Regions from separate parts of the Homo sapiens genome. Here region 2 is linked to region 1. Evidence: promoter capture Hi-C in 16 types of primary human blood cells and fetal thymus (Javierre and others, 2016). All regions are on one chromosome and are shown on one strand. Each heading gives the region's core, a stretch centred on a gene start or on the middle of the fragment in contact. The rest is flanking DNA. Distances are from core to core; before and after follow the strand shown. Region 1 holds the start of LIN7A (lin-7 cell polarity scaffold A). Region 2 overlaps LIN7A (lin-7 cell polarity scaffold A).

Region 1 (2,979 bases), core at 254-2,753:
TTCCATTGTATGACAGAGGAGGAAACAGGATCAGTGAGAGATTGTGTGACTTCCGAAGAGTACATGACTAAGACTCAAATGTCAAGATCAGCATTCTTTCTTAAATACTAAATAAAAATAAACATATCGAACTACTATTTTAGGTTTGTTCTTAGGGTCTGTTAAGTCTATATATGGCCAATCATCTTTGGCTTTCCCACATTGGTGAAATGTTGTTTTTTAAAATTCAATTGTAGACTATAAAATGAAAAAGACCTTCAGAAATCCTATCTGTAATCAGAAGAAAATGGCATCAATTATATGCAAATATTTTGCTATAAAACAGTATCTGCCTTTTAGAGTTTATTGTTAGCCCAAACAATTCAGCTCTGTCACAGGAAACAAGATGGAGGCAGCTTTGTCATTTCCAATCCTGCACCCACAGTCACCCCTATTCAGCTTATAGAAGGTTTCTTTATGTTTCTTGATTTCGTAGTCAGGAAATGAATCCCTACTATGACAAGATAGTGAAAGTAGCCTTTTTATTGGGGCGAAGAGGTCACAGCCAGTATTTGAAGGCTCTCGTAATTTAATCCTGATCAACTGACTCTAAAGTCAGGTTTTTAATAACACCATCTCCCACTAGATTACAGGCTACAGGAAGTCGGAGACTAAATTGAACTCCTAAATCAAGGCGTGGCACAAGGCAATGTAACTCTTCTATCTCAATTCCTGGCATATATGTTAATCAATCGATAAGTGGCATCTCTGAACCACTGGTTAGAAATCAACATGAAAAGTGCTAGGTACATATTTTTCAAACGTAGTCATAGACAACCAAAATCAGTTTGGACATTAAGAGCAAAGTTTTTGTTGCTGGGTGGGTGAGGGGGAGTGGGGCATGTTTACAGGATGTGGTATGTAAAAAATTCGGAGAAAATCTGAACACTGTACTTGTTTCTAAGCTACATTTACTGAATTGGTAATGTATTAACAGTGGCTTGAAAAAGAAAAACTTAGCGATAGAAACTTACCTACACGTTTTTTATTTTGAAGCACTTTTAAGAGGTTTGCCTTTTTTTTTTTTTTTCTCCAGGCAATATACTCAGGTCCTAAATGAACATCTACTGATGGAACGCTGGCCTTTAGTCAGTTATCTTTATATGCCGTTATAGGTCAACATTCCGAAAAACTTCAACAGAAATTAACTGCAAATGTAATTACATCCCAAACATTTCTGATAATGGAAGCATTTTCTCTCTAAAGGGGATGGGATTATTGGATTGGCAATTTCTCTTAATCTGAGAAAACTCATCTCCCACTCCCTTCCCCATATCCCCTTTCCATCCTCTCTCTTCCCCTTATACACACACGCACCCGCATGCACACACGTATATTCTGACCATTTTATTAGAGTGGAAAGTTGAAAGGAAGCAACCCGCCAGCTACACCCACCCAGCGCTCCTGGGGGTGGAATAGCAAAGTTCTAGGGCAGAGCCTTCCCTCCCAGAGCCCGGCGATGCAGTCGCTCTCGGATACCTGCTCAGCTCCGCACCGCAACTGAAGATCTGCCGCCGCGGAACAGTTGCGTCTCCATCTGGCTACCAACCCACCCAAGCTTTCTTCTCCACCACCACCACCTTCCTTCCTTCCCCCTCCTCCCCCTCCTTTCCGTCTTCCCTCTCCACCCCCGCCCCCAATCTCCTCCTTTTTTTCTCACTACGAGCGGTTGCTGATGCTGAAGCCGAGCGTCACTTCGGCTCCCACGGCAGACATGGCGACATTGACAGTGGTCCAGCCGCTCACCCTGGACAGAGGTAAGGGAGCGGCTCGCTCGCCAGGCCACCGCGTCCCCTCTCCCCTCCTCCCTTCCCCGCCTGCCAATTCCCAACGGGACATGGGACGCGCTCAGGCAGGAGGAGAAGGGGAACGAGGACGAGCCAGGAAGGCGTTCGCGCCGAGAACAGAACACTTTCTTCCCCTTTCTCTCCCCGCTACGTTCCCGCTGCCCCTTCCCACTGTACTCGCCCCGCCGAGGGGACGCCTCCTTCTGGCTCTGGGGTCCCCGCTGCCACTCCCAGCCCCTCGCCGGGTCGTCTCCGGTCCTCTGGCTTTGTTGGAGCCGCTGCGCGGGGACGGCTATAGGCGCCAGGGGCTCGGGGTTGGAGAGGGGCAGAGAGCAAGCTCGCCCGGCCAGAGCCCAGAGGAGACCGGCGAGGGAGCCGCCTGTCAGCTTGCTTGGCGCAGGGGCCCGGGAGGAAGGAAGTTTGTCCAGGCGCCGGAGGGCGAGGGTCGGTCCAACTGCTGGAGTCCCGGCGGCCACTCGGGGGGCGGGCTGGGCGCACCCCTGGGCTGCCGGGCGCACAGTGGCGGGGCTGCAGCAGGCAGGGAGCTGCCCTCTGCCGAAAGGGCAAGGCAGAGCGCGGGGAGCCGAGCCCCAGCAGCCGAGATCGGCTCTCCGCGGCTTCGAGATCGAAAGCGGCGAGGGTCGCGTCTGCTCCCGCCGCCGGCAGCTCCCGGTCGATAGCAACTCTCGGCTTCTCCCGCGCCAGCCTCTCGTGTCCTCTCCCAGCTCGGTGCCACCGCGGCGCCCAGGCTGCGGAAGGCGCGGGGACAAAGCGCAGGTCGGGTTAAAATTCAACTTCTGACCTGCCACCCAGTGAGTCCTGCTCTCTGACTTGAACGGGGAAAGTGTTCGCTTCCTCCCCAGGACGCCCTCACAAGCTCAGGGATGGAGTCCTCCGCTGCGATCGGGGCCTCACTGGTGCACCCCTGTGGGGTTATACCTGTCCCTGAGTGTGTGGGTTTCCTTCCTGGCTCCAGCGTCCAGTGATGAAGGCGCTCGAGTCCTACGGCTCTGCAGAGGAGGACACCCTCTAGTCCCTCTCCGCAGCCGCCGGATTTAGGACCCTGGGCGGCCATTTGGAAATGGTGTACTCAGAAGAAAATGATTTAGTCCGATGTACCTCTAAAAATTTTCTTTCTAGAGGATTAAACTGA
Region 2 (2,755 bases), core at 72-2,571, 140 kb after region 1:
AGGAGAAGGGTGATCGGGGAAAGAAAGGGGAGAAGTTGACCAAAGGGTATAAAGTTTCAGTTAGACAGGAGGAATAAGCTTTAGTGATCTATTGCACAGAATGATGAGTTAAATAATAATATCTATTTCAAAATTGTTAAAAGGATAGCTTTTAAATATTTCCACCACAAAAAATAAGTATGTGTGGTGATAAAATGTGTTAATTATTTTATCTGGTTTAATCATTTCACATTTTAAACATATCAAAACATCAATTCAATATATTTATACATCACAAATTTATTTGTACATCACAAATTTGTACATCACAAATGTATACAATTATTATTTGCCAATTGAATATACAATTTTAAAAATATATCTTGTAATTCTGTAGGATAGAAGTCCAACACAGTTTTACTGGGCTTTAGGAGGCTCTAGGGGAAAATTCATTGCTTCCTGGGCCCTTCCTCCATCTTCAAAACGAGTAGCGGTAGTGGAATCCTTCTCACATTGCATTTCTCTGACCTCTGCCTTCATCACAACGCTGTTTTCTGTCCCCCTCTTTCACTTTTGTTGTTGTCTTGGTGCTTGCAAAACTGTTAATTTATTTCTATTGATTTACATTTGATGTTTGTGTATGAAAGTGACACTTTTTCATTGCAAAATTTTTAGACAGTAGAGAAGTATAAAGAATAAATTAACTTTTCAGCTATAATCTCACTTCATTTTAGTACACAGTTTTTTCTCCAGAAATGTTATTTCTATATATGTATGTTTATATGTATGTTTATATATATATATATATGCTTATTTTCACTCATATTTTACATGCTAAATTATAACCTGATTTTTAAAAATTAAACAATATGGTTAACATTAGTAGACTTAGGTCTACATTTTAAATATCTGTGTAAAGTTTTAATTTCTAGGTATACAATAATCAATCTCTTCTGAATGGACATTAAGGTCATTAACATTTTTAAATCTTGTTGGATTTGATTTGCTAACTTTTGTTGAGGGTTTTTAAATTTATGTTCTTGAGAGATATTGGTCTGTAGTTGGTTTTTTTTTCTTCTAGTGTCTTCGTCTGGCTTTGGTATTAATGTAATGCTGGCCATATAGAATGAGTTAGGAAATATTCGCTCTGCTTCTATCTGATATGCTGAAAGCAATTATAGACAATTGGTATAACTTATTTCTTAAATTTTGGTAGAATTCTCCAGTGAACCTATCAGGGTCGGGTGCTTCCTGCTTTGGAAGGCTACTAAGTATTGATTCGATTTCTTTTATAAATATAGACCTATTCAAATTGTCTATTTCTTCTCATGTGAGTTTTAGCAGATTGTGTCTTTTTTTTTTTTTTTTTTTTTTTTTTTTTTGAGACGGAGTTTCACTCTTGCTGCCCAGGCTGGAGTGCAATGGCACGATCGCAGCTCACTGCAACCTCCACCTCCCGGGTTCAAGCAATTCTCCTGCCTCAGCCTTCCGAGTAGTTGGGATTAGAGGCATGCGCCACCACACCCAGCTAATTTTGTATTTTTAGTAGAGACCAGTTTTCTCCATGTTGGTCAGACTGGTCTCAAACTCCCGACCTCAGATGATCCGCCAGCCTCGGCCTCCCAAAATGCTGGGATTACAGGTGTGAGCCACCGTACCCGGCCCAGACTGTGTCTTTCAAGGAATTGTCCATTTCATCTAGGTTATCAAAATGGTGGATATAAAGTTGTTCATAGTATTTTTTTACTATGCTTTTAATGTCCATGGTATTTGTAGTGATGTGACCACTTTCATTTCTAATAGAAGTAATAATTTGTGTCTTCTCTTCCTTTTTGTTAGCTTGGCTAGAAGTTTATTGATTTTATCCGTCTTTTTATTTTATTTTTTTCGAGATGAAGGGTCTTGCTATGTTGCCTAGGCTGGACTTAAATTCCTGGGCTCACATAGTTCTTCCATCTCAGTCTCCTAAGTAGCTGGGACTACAGGCATGCACCACAGTGCTTGGTTTTTATTGATCATTTTAAATAATCAGCTTTTGATTTCATTGATTTTCTCTATTAATTTCCTATTTTCAATTTCATTGATTTCTTCCACATTAATTTTTATTAATGAAAAATTAATCTTCATTAATGTTTATTATTTGTTTTCTTCTGCTTACTTTGGATATAATTTGCCCTTTTTCTAGTTTCCTAAGGAAGAAGCATAGATGATTGATTTTTTGGTTCCCACAACTTATCAAAACATTTTTATTTTTTATTTTTACTTGGTTCAAAATATTCTTAAATTTCTCTTGTGATTTTTTTTCTTTGACTCATCCCTCTTCCACTTTTAATTACATTGGATTGAACTAAATAATCCAGGGTTATTTCCCTATTTTAACATAGGCTTCTTAGCAACCTTAATTTCATTTACAACCTTAACTGCCCTTTATCATGTAATCAAACATATTTATAGTTTATGGAGATTAGGATGTGGACTTAACATTTAGTGGACGAGGAGGCACTATTCTGCCTACCACAATGGCTCTTTTAAGAGTTAGTAGGCAATTTGATCAACAAGACACACTAATATGGAAAAGAAGCTTTTCTTAAAAATAAATTGTTAATCAGTTAAATTATAAATCATGACTGAGGGCAATACTAACATTTGTTGCAGCTGGTTCTTCCCAACAGGTATGTCAGTGGCCCACATGTTGAATGCCCAGTGCTCTCTCTCAGGCTGACTCCTGCCCTGGATAGATGAAGAGATCCAAGACTTACTAAAATTCACCTGTTCT

What was found. The method cuts DNA at HindIII sites, captures the fragments that hold promoters and counts their contacts. A CHiCAGO score of 5 or more calls a contact.
Region 2: a fragment that was not itself captured here is called in contact with the fragment with the promoter of LIN7A in region 1 in 1 of 17 cell types (neutrophils); the score reaches 6.1 in neutrophils.

What each region holds. Positions count from the first base shown.
Region 1 is chr12:80,936,458-80,939,436 of GRCh38, reverse strand. LIN7A (lin-7 cell polarity scaffold A) reads left to right here and starts at 1,503. Exons shown (of 6, transcript NM_004664.4): 1 at 1,503-1,796. The coding sequence starts at 1,715. RefSeq lists a silencer at 2,166-2,375. The HindIII fragment of the contact is 1,862 bases long and covers 1-1,599 here.
Region 2 is chr12:80,799,096-80,801,850 of GRCh38, reverse strand. All of the region lies in intron 5 of LIN7A (lin-7 cell polarity scaffold A), which reads left to right. Among named protein-coding and RNA genes, the nearest start is that of MIR617, 32 kb to the left of the region's middle. The HindIII fragment of the contact is 2,482 bases long and covers 81-2,562 here.